Regions from separate parts of the Homo sapiens genome. Here region 1 is linked to region 2. Evidence: promoter capture Hi-C in 16 types of primary human blood cells and fetal thymus (Javierre and others, 2016). All regions are on one chromosome and are shown on one strand. Each heading gives the region's core, a stretch centred on a gene start or on the middle of the fragment in contact. The rest is flanking DNA. Distances are from core to core; before and after follow the strand shown.

Region 1 (6,888 bases), core at 1,992-4,491, 210 kb after region 2:
ACAAAACTTTATTCTTTCCTTACCAGATGAAAATGACAATTGCTTTGGATTACTAAAGGGTGAATTACTAGGAATTCAGCTTTTCGGCTGAAATGTGTTTTTTTGTTTTTGGAAACTTTTAAACATCAGTTCCATCCATAGTACCAGAATATTTGCTTTGTCCTGAGGCATGGAATATCTTAGAGTCACTGTCTTTCCTTGGAAAACTGTGGTCCCCAGAAGACTGACCAGTAGCACAGCTCTTGGAGCTAGGCAGGGCAATAAATAAAAAGGCATTTAGGCCAGGTGTGGTGGCTCACGGCTGTGATCCCAATACTTTGGGAGGCCGAGCCTGGTGGATCACCTGAGGTCAGGAGTTCAAAACCAGCCTGGCCAACACGGCAAAACTTCTCTCTACTAAAAACACAAAAATTAGCCAGGCGTGGTGGCATGAGTTTGTAGTCCCCAGCTACTCCAGAGGCTGAGGCAGGAGAATAACTTGAACCCAGGAGGCAGAGGTAGCAGTGAGCTGAGATCACACCACTGCACTCCAGCCTGGGCAACAGAGTGAGACTCTGTCTCAAAAAAGAAAGGCATTTAGCATTTGGGCATCTGTAACCCACTATTCTCAATGGGGCTAGGGTGGTAATGAAGTGGGAAACTGGACAGGGTGGATTGCAAGGGTCTGGAGCTCAGTCTTACAGCTCAGAGCTTGTTTCAGATAATTCTTAGATAGCAGAGACTATCTGGAAAATACCTGGTGACAGAAACTTGGTTTCTTCATCTTTGATATGGCTTTGGATTTCTGCTTAGGCTGAGATTGGGCACTTGGGTTTAGGGGTAAAGATGAGACCAGACACAAGGCATGCATGGTGTTAACACAAGTCATCAGTTATACTTGGACAAACATTAGATAAGGAACCTAGAAGGCTAGATTGACCCTGAATCTCTCTGAATCTTTCTGGTCACAGGAATTCCTAGGGAACTTGGGAACTTGTGTTCCCTACTTGCACTTGCAGCCGATGTTCTTGAGGTGGCAGGACAATCTCTTTTAACTCTGTGGCTAGTATTTTCTGCACAAGATAGCAATTTTTACATTTTATCATTGAGCTTGATCTAGTGAAGAGTCCTTCGTGGGGAAAGGGATTGCTTACTCTCCTTCTTTGGTAAAGGTAAGACTTTGAATCAGGACCAGTGCAATGAAGTAAGTTTGCATAAACCAGAGTCCGAAAGAGAAAATGAGCTGGGGTAACAGGTGTGGCTGCAGAGGAGAGCTAAAAATAGGAAGGAGGCAGCAGTACTACTTCATTCCACACATGTCTGGAGGATTCTCTCTAATGTTCTCCGTGGATGTGTGATTTTGGCATTTCCTTCATCACCCATGGTGACACACCCAGCTGAGAAGCACAACTGGGAATTGGAGCTCCTGAGGCTGGGAGGACAGAGATGCTTCTAGCATGAATCTTCAGCACCCTTTGCCTTCCTTGTGCAAACAGTGTCTCCCTCCCTGTGCTGGGACTTCCCGGAAGTAAGACTGTGTTCTTGAGAAGGTCAGAGCAAGACCTGTTCACCCCACTGAGCAGACACGTGTCAGGTGCAGAGACTGATGTGAAGACAGAGCAGCCCAGGCCCAAGGGAGCCACTGATGTTTGTACACCTCAGCAGCTGTCACCCTGATATGTTTTGGGCAGGAAGGGGCTGCTAAGACAGCAATCTGCAGGCCTCCTGTGCTGACCTAAGTAACAAAATACCCACAGACCTTGAAGAAGAAAAGGAAGTGCAACTCACCGGCAGGTTCACAGAGTGGAGCTGGGAGAGAATTCAGCAGAGATCAGTACAGAGCAGCAAATCCCACAAATCTCCAAAGTTTAAATCCTTTGAGAGCTTCCCCAACACCACACCCTCCATCCCCTGGACCCTCCCTGCATCTCTCTCTTCCTCCCTCTTTCCCTCTTTCTCTCTTCTCCCCTTCCTTCTTTCATCTTCTCTTCCTCCCTCCTTATCTTACCCCTGCTTCTTTTCTTCTTTCTCTCTGCTCCTTTTCCCATATTCTGCATCACCCACAGAGCACCTGCCCACAGAACAACACATCGTTCTTTTTTATGATCACAAAGTAATTGCCAATGACTTGTGTTGTCTGTGACTAGGAGGTGGCATCTTTGCTAACTACTTAGCAGCTCCTTCTTCAAGCTCCTCATTCCCATTCCCACCGCCTCCTTTCAAAAGTCTTGAGGATCCAGCTTTGGATTGACTCTCTCAAGGGAACAACAGAGTCAGGCAAGGAGAGTGCACAGCCTCATACTCAAGGCATAGAGACCCTTTGTTTACCAATTTCAGATCAGAGGAGGCTTAGGTCCAGAAAAGGAATTCAAATTTCTCCAAAAATTCTCTTCTATCCCAAGGACTTGACCATAATATTATGGCTCAATGATCAAGAAAAAATAATTCTGGGGAAAATGGAGGCTTTGTAGCTGGATGACACAGATTTGAGTACTGGCTCTTCCTCTTACAAGCTGTGTGACTGTGGGAGAAATGTTTCACCTCTCTGTGCTTTAGTTTCCTTGTCGGTAAAGTGTAGATAATTGTGGTACCTACCTCACAGAGTTTTTGTGAAGATTAAGGAGCTTAGACTAGTGCCTGGAATTTACTTATTCAGTAAATATTGTGTCATTACTATTATTTATTTTAGCCAAGCTTGGTTTGAGATACTTACTTTTTCTTAGGTTAAATGTTTACTTGAATAATTAGTTCCTTAGGTAGGAGAAAAGTGTCAATAGGAGAGAGCATAAAATCATATTCCATACACTTGTCCATACAGCAAATAATTTGAAGTGCTCACTGTATGCCAGACGTTGTGCATGGCCCTGGAGTGATGGGAGTAAACATGAATGACAATCTTTGATGTCAAGAAATTCATATTATAGTGGTAGAGAGCCAATTTAAAAATAAGTATATAATATTCTTTCAGAGGGTGATTGGTTCTCTAAGAAAAATAAAGCAGAGAAATAAGATACAGAGCATCTTAAGATGGTCTTAACTGTTTAGATAGATTTAGATAGATTCAGTAAAAACCTAAATGAAATCAGGAAACAAGCCTTCTGAATATTTGGGAAAGAGCATCCCTGGCAGAGAAAACATCGAATGCAAGTATCCTGAGGAGGAAATACGCTTGTACAAGGAGGAATGAGAAGGCAAGGGCACCTGGAGCTGACCAAGTAAGGGGGCAGGGGTTAGTTATCGGTGTCTGAGAAATAGGAAGGATCCAGTCATGGGCACTTTATGGACTTGGCAATAGTTTTGGATTTCATTCTAGGTGTGATGGGGAGCTATGGACAATTCTTACTTAATTTACAATATCACTCAGACACTGTGAGGAAAGCAGTATAGAAGTGAAAGAAAAGCAGGGAGAACGTTAGTGGGAATTTAGTGTAGGAGAGTAAAGATAGTGGCTAAGATTAGACAGTGCTGGTGATATGAAGTGGTCAGACTTTAGTATAAATTCTGAAAGTAGAATTAATAGGAATTGCTTATGGATTAAATAGAAAGTGCAAAAGGAGAGAGAGGGGAATTAAGTATGACTCTTAGATTTTTGGCCACAGCAACTGGAAGAATGGTAGTGACATTTCCTGAATTGGAGAAGTTGTGGGGGAAAATAGGTTAAGTTTTGTGGTGGTGGTAGTACAGGTGGAAGATCAAGAGATCTGTTTGAGTTTAAGATGCCTGTTAAACACCTGATGTTAAGTTTAAGATGTTTATTAAGATGTCTATTAGATACCCGAATGCAGTTAAGTACATAAGAGGTATTTAAAAGAGAGGTGAAAGCTGGAGAAATAAGCTTGCATTTAAGCTTAAAGTGGCACATGAAGTGACATAATTATATAATTTGGGGAAGTGAGTATGGATGAAGTCTAGGTATCAACTTTGAGGATGTCCAACATTTTGAGGTCAGCAAAAGATCCAAGCCAGATGCAGTGGCTTATGACTGTAATCCCAACACTTTGGAAGGCTGAGGTGGGAGGATTGATGGGGGCCAGAAGTTTGAGATAAGCCTGGGTGGCAAAAAATAAATTAATTAATTTAAAAAAAAACCCTGTTTGTAAAAAACAAAAACAAAAACAAAAACAAACAAAAAAAACCACAAATGATTTGGGGGAGATGGAGTTTCACTCTTCTTGCCCAAACTAGAGTGCAATGGCACAATCTTGGCTCACTGCATCCTCCACCTCTCGGGTTCAAGCGATTCTCCTGCCTCAGCCTCCTAAGTAGCTGGGATTACAGGCATGTGCCAGCCACCACACCCAGCTAATTTTGTATTTTTTTTTTCTTTAGTAGAGACTGGGTTTCATCATGTTGGTCAGCTTGGTCTGAACTCCTGACCTCAGGTGATCCACCCACCTTGGCCTCCCAAAGTCCTGGGATTACAGACATGAGCCACCATACCTGGTCAAAAAATTGTTTTAATTAGCTGAGTGTGGTTGCATGTGTCTCTGGTTCCAGCTACTCAGGGAGCTGAGGCAGGTGCATCACTTGAGACCAGGAATTCAAGGTTGCAATGAGCCATGACCATACCACTGCACTTCAGCTGGGGCAACAGAGTAAGACCCTGACTCTAAAAAAATTAAATAATTTAGCAAAGAAACTGAAAAGTAGCAGATACTGAATTAGAAAGAAAGCCAGCAGAATATGATATTCCAGAAGCCAAATTAAAAGTGTTTCAAAAAATAAAGAGTGATCAAATGCCCCTGAGAAATTGAGTAAAATAAAAAATTAAAATTGACCCCTTGATGCAGCAACATGAAGATGGTTGATGCTATGTGCAAGAACAGTTTCAATGGAGTGGTAAGGATGAAAGATTGATTTAAGTGGGTTCAAGGAAGAATGAGGAAGAAGTGTAAGGACTTAAATGAGTTTACCAGGGGTTAGGAATGGGAGAAGATTTGACCATAAAAGGGAGTGAGGGCATAAGTAAATTTCTTTTTCTTTTTTCTTTTTTTTTTTTTTAAGACAGAGTCTCTTTCTGCCACCCAGGCTGGAATGCAGTGGCATGATCTTGGCTCATTGCAACCTCTACCTCACAAGTTCATGCAATTCTCCTGCCTCAGCCTCCTGAGTAGCTAGGACTACAGGCTTGCACCACCTCGCCTGGCTAATTTTTGTATTTTTAGTAGAGATGGGGTTTCACCATGTTGGCCAGGCTGGTCTTATACTCCTGACCTCAGGTGATCCACCCACCTCGGCCTCCCCAAGTGCTGGGATTACAGTCGTGAGCCACTGCACCCAGCCGGGAAATTTTTGAAGGGATGAAAATGTCCTGTATTTTGATTCTGCTGGTGGTTATATGGATCTAAATCTTTGTCAAAAATTATAGACAGTCTTTCAAAAAAGTAAATCTTAATGTAATGTAAATTAAAAATAAATATTAAATAAAGAATGAAAGGAAGTGAAGCAAAGACAGCAATTCACTGAAAACTTTTTGTTTTATTTTACTTTTTTGAGACAGGATCTTGCTCTGTCACCCAGGCTGGAGGTCAGATCACTGCAGCCTTAACCTCCTGGGCTCAAGTGATCCTCTTACCTCAGCCTCCCAAGTAGCTGGGACTACAGGCATGTGCCACAATGCCAGGATAATTATTTATTTTTTATTTTTTGTAGAGACAAGATTTTGCTATGTTGCCCAGGCTGGTCTGAAACACCTGATGTCAAGCGATCCTCCCGCCTCAACCTCCCAAAGTGCTGAGATTATAGCATGAGCCACCACACCTGGTGCACTGAAAACTTTATAAAGGGAAACAGAAAACTTGTGTAGTAAATGGAAGCCATATTTCTATTATTTTAAGAGAAAAGACATTGTCGGTGATGTCGGCAAGATGGCTGACTAGAGGTGTCTATTACTCATCCTCCTCCCCGCCTAAAAAAAGACTGAAACAATAAGGAAACAACTACATTTTGACTGGAGTGTCTAAAGGAGAGCACTGAAGTACAGCAGGGGAATGGCAGAAATCTTGTGGATCACAGAAACTCAGGATGGCTACATAAAGAAGGGAATGGAACCCTGCAACCTGCCTCTGCAACTCTGTCTCCTCAGTCAGGATCAGCTTGGAATGCAGGCTGGGATTCAAGCCTAGGAGGGGCTTTTCCCTGAAAACAAAAGGTAAAGAAGTCCCCAGAAGCCCCCATTATATCTGTGGACACCAGCAGTCTTTGTTGCTGGAGAATCCTGCAGTTCTCACAGGACCTAAGTCCAGTTTTGGAAGCTGCCTGGAGTTCATATGGCTGCATTATTCTAGAGTAAGAGCCCATACTGTGGCTCCTCCCATCCCATGACCCAAGCTACTACTGCACAGCACCATCTTGAAACTAGAGCAACTACTAGAGTGTGTTCTGTTCCTGGGGGCAGTAGTCACTGCATCTTTTCATCCTTGAGGCTTCACCATCCTTGCATCATGCTTACACACAGTAGTACACCATTTGCTAGCCAAGCTTCCCTGCTTCCTAATCCATGGGAACAAGCTGTCTAGGAATCACTCCATTTTCTCCATCCTAGTGGCTTCAGTGCCCCAACCCCAGGGACTCAAAACCTAGGCTCAGGGGGACAGCTGTGATCCTGTCACTTGAGTCCACATGACACTCTGCCCTGCCAAGGAACAGGCTGTCCTGCCCAGTGGAGAAGTCAAGCCTTATCCAGAAGACCAGCCATGTGCCTGCCTCCTTGGCATATGACCCAGTCAGGCATCCTGCCCCTAGGGAAGCCACAGCTGAGCCAGCAGACCAACTGCATGCTCCCTTGGTGTGAAAACCAGCCTGGCACCTCACCCCTGGGGAAACACAGCACCTGCCAATCTGTATTACTCTGCCCTTCTCAGCCAAACAGCCTAAGTGTCCTGCCTGAATCTGGACTAGCCCTCTGAA
Region 2 (7,611 bases), core at 94-2,593:
ATCATAGCTAATTTGGAACTCAAAATGAGACAGACAGTAGAGGGTAGTAGTTAAAAGCCTAGTTTCCAAAGTTAGATTATGGGTTCGAATCCTGACTCTGCCACTGTACTAGCTGCATAAACCTCAGGGACAAGACCAACATCTTTGTGCCTTCATTTCCTCATTTGTAAATGGGAGTTATAAAAGTTCCACCTGATCAAATGTTAGAGAATTGGATACATTTATACATGGGGTGCCCTTAGAAAAGTGGGATGTAGCCAGGGCTTAGCACAAATTAACTGACATCCTCACACATTATCCTGTAACTATTTGTGTAATATTTTTCTCATATTGTCGAGTCAGATGTTCTTGCATGTGTACGTTGAGGTTCTATTGAGAATGTCACCTCTTGAGGGCAGAATCTGTGTCCTTCAGGTCTCTGCATCCTCTGTGGTGCCCAGCAGTGTGGCATGCCAAGTATACCCATCCACTCACTCCTTAGTTCCTATCATGTGCCAATCACACTAATAGGTCTTCCCTTAGTTGGGGTCTGGGGATCAGGTGGGAACTAGACAAATACGCTTAATAAATATTTAATGAACAAAAGACTGACTGTTCTTTAATTCCCTAGTTTGAGCAACTAGGAAATCCGTGCCTCATTTGGACAAACACTGACAAGTGGTACAAAAGCAGGAAGAAAAAAATCAAAGGGAAATCATCTTATCTCTTCTCTTCTCATGCTCTTTGCAAACATCAGAACAGGTTTGAACTTAGAATACAGAGAAGGAAATAACTATTCTCAGCAGGTGATCCTTTCTACCTGAGTTCACAATCAGGACTTTATCCTTCACAAATAACTCAGTCCATCTTTTCCTCTGGGTCCTCATGCTCTGTGACGTAGGGACTGAACCTAGCCATAGGTTTCTTTTTGCATAAACAAAATAAGTCCATTTGGGGGTAAAATGATTTTCCATAGGCAATTCATAGCAAAAATAGATGAGAAATACATCTTTGGAAATCAATTATTATCATTTTCCCCTTCTACCAGTAAATCATTATCTTTCCTTTTTGTTCATTTTCTGCTGTTCTAAAATGGGAGTAAAAATCCATGATTGCAGCAGCAGAAAAGAGGGCTTTTGCTCATGGTGAGGCTCAGCTTTGCAGCAAGCAAAGGTCTCCTCCCCATCACTTACCAAAGGCCAGCAAGGACGCCCACAGCAGCATGGAAGCCTGCTCCAGGATTGGAGAAGGAGTTCTGAGGAGACAAGCCAGGTCAGCCCAGATTGCCAAAGCAGCACTTGCCTACACCAGCACCAGCAGTGAGCTCAGTAAGCTTCTTCTCTGCATAAAGCTGATTGAGATAATGAAGTGAAAGGGGGAAGTAGAGGAATCTTTCTGAAAACACCAAACAGCAATGTGGACCAGTGTGAGAGAATCCAGACCACAAAAATCAAAATTTAATAGAATTAAGTACTGCTGTGACATCCTGGGGTGAATCACTTCTCAAGGCTAAAGCTACTCTAGTTTCAGAACTCTCTAGGCTCTGTCTTTCAAGGAAATCACAACCTATTCTCTCTGCTACTAGAGATGAGGTGAGATTGCAGGCCTATTGAAATCCACATAATCTAAGGATGTCCCTGAATATCCCCAGAGATGAAGAATTTCTCATTCAACACAGAAAAGGCCTCCTCTGACCGCTGATACCTCTACTGGAACACCTCCAGCAGGCCGTCTGTAGACCTGATGAAACATCTCAATCACAAGACAACTCTCACCTTGTCTGATATATATGAAAATATCCTGACTCATCAGTCCAGGGGGAAACCACAACTTTTGATCTGAGTAGAAGGCAAGCTGAGGAGTAAATTATAGCCCCATCATGCTCTTCCTAGATAATAGGCCATAACATTTTTACTTAATGTCCTAGAATCCAAAATTTGCTACAGGAATGTCTTGGCAAATATATATTGATTGAAATACATATGCCTGGTATCTGGTGGCAGAGAGAAGAAGTTGTGATTTCCTTGAAAGACAAGAGGCTAGAGAGTTCTGAAAATATGATGGCTTTAGCCTTGAGAAGCGATTCACGTCAGGAAGTCAGAGTGGGTATTTAAATAATTCTATTAAATTTTGATTTTTGCCATTTGGATTCTTTCACACTGGGCAACATGCTGTTTGGTGTTTTGAGAAACACCTAATGCTCTCCCTACCCATAACAAACCTGCACACTCTGCTCATGTATCCCAGAACTTAAAAAAAAAATTAAGAAAAAAATGGAAAAATCCGTAGTGACGTTTTTTGGTACGTATAATATTTTGGTATGTATAACTCTTTAAAACTTTTTTATGCTATTATCTTGTGTATATGTATGTGTATATATATATATATATATATATATATATATATATATATATATAAAATGTTAATGGCAAAAAAAAAGAAACACCATGGTGCTTCAGGTATGGTGCCAGGTGCTGGAAGTACAGTGTTAATCAAGACTTGGAAAGCTTTCATTCTGGTGGAGAAGACAGCAAGTCAACAGGAAATTACATAGAAGTGAATTGTATGTAATTTCTGAGAGTCCACTAAGAGGGAAATCTGACCCAGTTCTGGGGATGCATAAGAGGCTTCCCTGAGGAAGTAACATCCAAGCTGAAAGAATATCATTCTAGGACTGAGAGATGAGCATGCACTAAGATGGAAGGCAGTTATCGTGACCATCACCATCACATCAAGATATCTGTGAATAGATAATAGACATAGGATGGATTAAGAGTGGTCTGTATTTTTCTAATATAATGTTTTTCTATATATCTGTAATAATTTATTTTCTAACTAGGGTTTGTATTGAACATCAACTATATTTTAGACAATGTCCATGGCCTTAGAAGAATAAAAAGGTGAATAAAGTGCATCTCTCTTAAAGACTTTAAAAAAGTCAATGTGGTAAGGGCCAGAGTAGACATAGACACAAGGAACCATAAAGACATAGAGCTGTCAAGGCGGCACATGGGTCCTTTGTCTCCTTGCCGTGTGACCGTGCTGTCATCTTTCAGCTGCCTTCATTTGTCCCAGGAGGAGCAAGGGTATAAAATGGCAGTCAAGAACCTGATCTGCAGAATCCCACACATCTGGATGAAATCTTGACTTCACCTCTTGCTAGTTGGGTGACTCTGGTCAAGTACTTAGCCTCTTTCACACTGGTAAAAAGGAGATAAAAATAATGTCCAGCTGAAGTGGATGTTGTTATTGATGTTTGTATGAATACATTAATGACATAGAACTCTCAGCTTAGTCCCTATGCTGAGAACTATTCTGTAATACTAGAAGTAACAAGTATAATGAACTAAAAAGCACTTTATAATTGACATAATATCCTACCAACATTTTTGTATTCCTTATAACACTGGAAAATAGTATTTAGCATGAGTTTAGAACTCCAATATTTATTGACTGACTAAGGATTGAGGGAAGTTGAAATCATATTGCCTGTTTTCTTGTTTCTACCATAAGTTTTGCTGAATGAATAGATTTCAATTAGCAAAATAAAATTTCACATTTATGATGTTATACAAGATGTCCAAACACAAAAATCATATTTATTTACAACTACTGTGTAAATGTTTAAGTTTACGTCAGTCAAGTACTATTTTTGTTGTGGTATTTAAGTCACTGACAGAAATATTTTAGTTATTGGTGCCAGAAGTGTGGTTAGTACTTTGAAACATCAGCCAGGAAGTACATATACCATGATTTATTAAGCAATTGCTTGACTAACCAGGAACTTTTAGATTTTATATTAACAAAGGACAAAAATAATTGTTTTCAATGAGAATGTAAGAAACTGAAATTTTTAAACTTTTCTAATTTTTTTTTGAAAAACATTTAAACCTTTACAGTTTAAAAAATAAATTTTCATTTTGGGGTAATTCTAGATTTATATAAAATAGTAAGGATAATACAAAGAGTTCCCATATAGGAAGCCCTCACCTGTTTCAATTTCCCCTACCGTTATCATTTCACATCATGGGGGTGCATTTATCAAAACTAAGAAACCAAGATTGCTACATTACTATTAATTACAGGCTTTATCCAGCTTTTTTCAGTTTTTCCATTGATACCTTTTTCCTCTTCTAGTATCCCTTCTAAGATACTACATTACATTTAGTTATCTTTGCTCCGTCTCTACATTACTATTAATTACAGGCTTTATCCAGCTTTTTTCAGTTTTTCCATTGATACCTTTTTCCTCTTCTAGTATCCCTTCTAAGATACTACATTACATTTAGTTATCTTTGCTCCGTCTCTACATTACTATTAATTACAGGCTTTATCCAGCTTGTTTCAGTTTTCCATTGACACCTTTTTCCTCTTCTAGTATCCCCTCTAAGATACTACATTACATTTAGCTATCTTTGCTCACAGACGTCTCTTCTCCATCTGTGAGTTTCTCAGTGTTTCCTTGTTTTTCATGACCTTGACAGTTTTGAGGAGTACTGGCTAGGTAGTTTGCGGCGTCTTTCAATCTGGGTTTGTCTGACGTTTTGGTCATAATTAAACTGGGGTTATGAGTTTTCACAAAGAATACTACAGCGGTAGAGTGTCCTTCTCATCACATTGGGGGTATGGAATCTCAACATGACTTATCACTGGTAATGTAAATTGTGATCACTTGGTTAAGGTAGTGTTTGCCAGGTTTCTTCGATGTAAAATTACTGTTTGTCTTTTTCTATATTCTTTCGTTTGGGAGCAAGTCCAGCCCACAGTCAGGGTGAGAGGTGAGGTAGGGGGATTTGTCTCCTTGTTCTTATTTACTTATTCATGTATTCATCCATTCAATCATTTATTTATATCACTATAGATTTGTATATTTACTTTAAACTTTGGTAACAATATAATGCTTTATATATTTTGTTGCTCAAATTGATCCAGCTTTGGTGATTGGGAGCTCTTTCAGGTCAGCTTCTTCTTTGTGCCTTTGAGAAACTCTCATCATTTTCCTTGTTGGAACATTTCTGTACTGTCTGGCACTACGAGATGCTCCTGGCTCATCTTACATTTTCCTGCCCCAACTCTAGAATCAGCCACTTCTTCAAGGAGCCCCAATTCCTTTCAGTAGAGACTGATATTTAGAAACCAAGATCTGAGTGCTGAGTATGGTCTTTACTACTACGGGAGAATCATACATTTTTAACTATGTGACAGGGAGTCTGTGGTCTTGTCAGTGCTTTATGGGTGGGAAAAATACTGGAAAGATAAATTTGTTGTTCTTGCTATTAAAAGACTCTTCTCCCAAATCAGTGGCTGTATACGTAATGATTTCTATAGCCATTTGTTAGTAATGGAGGAACAGCCGCTTGGAGTAATCAACTTTGAACTTCAAAGAAAAGGCAGTGAAGAAGCTCAATTACATTTATTTGTAGGCTGGTGCCATCTAGAAGCCGCATTTTATTTTCCATGACTACAGATAATAATATTTCTAGCCTTCAGTGGTAAAATATAATCTCCTTTTGTTTTAGAGACGTTTCCGAGATGATTTCTTGTTCTAAGTCGAGACTCTTCTATCTTCATGAACATACAGATCTTTTTGCTCAAAAACTTGTCCAAAGTGAGAACAGAATCGCAGGTTGTTAGTGCCCTCTATTCCAGATTCACAGATCCACAGTTATGTAGTAGAGGGTGTGAAATGGACACCAGATTTGAACTCTAAGGCCTGGCTATGGTTTTGCTTCATCACTTACAAGCTATGTAGCTGAAGGCAAATCCATTTTGTTACTTGGAGACGTTAACAAGAAAACTTTCATTTCCCCAATATTTTTATTTCAAAAAATTTTAAACCTTTCAAAAAAATGGCAAGAATAGTACAATAAATACTTACCTGCTCTTCACTGAGAGTTATCAGTTATTAACATTTAGCTATATTTGGTCAGTTTTTCCTGAGGGTTGGCCAAGGCAGTGCTGCTTGAGGGATGTGTCAGAAGCTTGGATGTGCGGGCTGGCTCGTTCCAATGTATTGTACTATGGGATGGAGCTGCGAGCAGGAATAAAAGTAGGAAGCTGTAAGCTTGAAACAGGAGACCAGAGCCTGCTTTCCTTGTCATACCTTGTTCTAGTATAAAATTCCCATTATCTTAAAATGTTATATTTGAACCCAGACTTCTAGGTCATTATGAAGGTATATTTGTCAAAGTAGGAGAATAAAACACATCTTATTAGCTTATTAGATTAATTTATAACTTTTTTTTTTTTGAGACAGAGTCTAGCTCTGTCGCCCAGGCTGGAGCTCAGTGGCGCAACCTCCGCTCACTGTAAGCTCCGCCTCCCGGGTTCCCGCCATTCTCCTGCCTCAGCCTCCCGAGTAGTGGGGACTACAGGCGCCCGCCACTACGTCCAGCTAATTTTTTATATTTTTAGTAGAGACGGGGTTTCACCTGTGTTAGCCAGGATGATCTCGATCTCCTGACCTCGTGATCCGCCCGCCTCGGCCTCCCAAAGTGCTGGAATTACAGGCCTAAGCCACTGCGCCCGGCTGATTTATAACTTTTAAATCCTCAGATCTATACTAGGAAGACCTCAACTTGCACTGTTGCCGGGGCCTCTGCAAAAGTTAGGGAGGGACAGAACACTTACCTAGAAGGGGAAGGGAGATACTTATTTTCCATTAATTCACTTAATGTAGAAACTGATTTTCTACTACATTCATTTCTATTAGCCAAAACTGAGTTAATTTCTTGAAAAAGAATCACCAAAATAAAAGTTTTAAAATCATAACTTTTAGATTTCAAGATTTCTCAAACCAGGCAATTTATTAGACTGTATATTGAAGAATTTAAAAATTAGGTGTTAAAGTAAAATCATGCATCCACTGGTAAACAACATTAAGCTAAGCATTTTATGGCTTCCAAATTTTATCTGTAACTACTCATTTTTAGCTGGAACTGCACATCACAAAAACATTCAACAGAGAAGTTTGCTTTAGAGAGGTGTATTTAAAAAATTAAACTGGACGATGAGCTCCATTTCATGGGAGTGGAGGAAGTTTACGTTTTACTGATTAACCCTGGTTTGATTACTTTTTGTAGATTGGTGCCCCTGGCACCAGTTTTAATCTGATTCAGCCTATTTCAGGGGGGTGCAAATTCAAAACCTATGAGAGCCAGGTAGGCAATGTAGAATGAAGAAAGTAATGTGTGAGAAAAACTAACTGCCAAAATTTAATAAAATTTGATTATTTTTGCTGAGCTATTGGATATGTATGTAACTTAATACAAACATTTATTGGAGGTTATATTTTAAATCCACATTTGAAAAATACAAATTGGAATGCAGACACAATTAATTTTTAATTTTTCCTTTATTATTTATTATTTCTGAACTGGGGACTAAAAAGTTTACATCTCTTCTTTTGCACCAAGAAATCAGTGGCAAAACTTACATTTCACAGTGTGTGTGCAATACAGGATTCAGTTTTGTATCCTTTAAATGGTTGCAATATTTAGTTTTATTGTTTTATAAAGGCAAATTGCTGTTTGCAAATGTAGGCACTCTGCCCATGGATAGAAACTTTGCACAATAGTTTTATATTTAGGATAGCTTCTTCTGAGATATTTGTAGATTTCTGGCATTCCTACA

What was found. The method cuts DNA at HindIII sites, captures the fragments that hold promoters and counts their contacts. A CHiCAGO score of 5 or more calls a contact.
Region 1: a fragment that was not itself captured here is called in contact with the fragment with the promoter of FCRL4 in region 2 in 1 of 17 cell types (total B cells); the score reaches 5.3 in total B cells.

What each region holds. Positions count from the first base shown.
Region 1 is chr1:157,805,335-157,812,222 of GRCh38, forward strand. FCRL1 (Fc receptor like 1) reads right to left here. Exons shown (of 11, transcript NM_052938.5): 2 at 1,768-1,788. Among named protein-coding and RNA genes, the nearest start is that of FCRL1, 11 kb to the right of the region's middle. RefSeq lists enhancers at 1,236-1,295, 1,326-1,375. The HindIII fragment of the contact is 1,141 bases long and covers 2,672-3,812 here.
Region 2 is chr1:157,596,742-157,604,352 of GRCh38, forward strand. FCRL4 (Fc receptor like 4) reads right to left here and starts at 1,344. Exons shown (of 12, transcript NM_031282.3): 1 at 1,173-1,344. The coding sequence starts at 1,203. The HindIII fragment of the contact is 1,174 bases long and covers 1,311-2,484 here.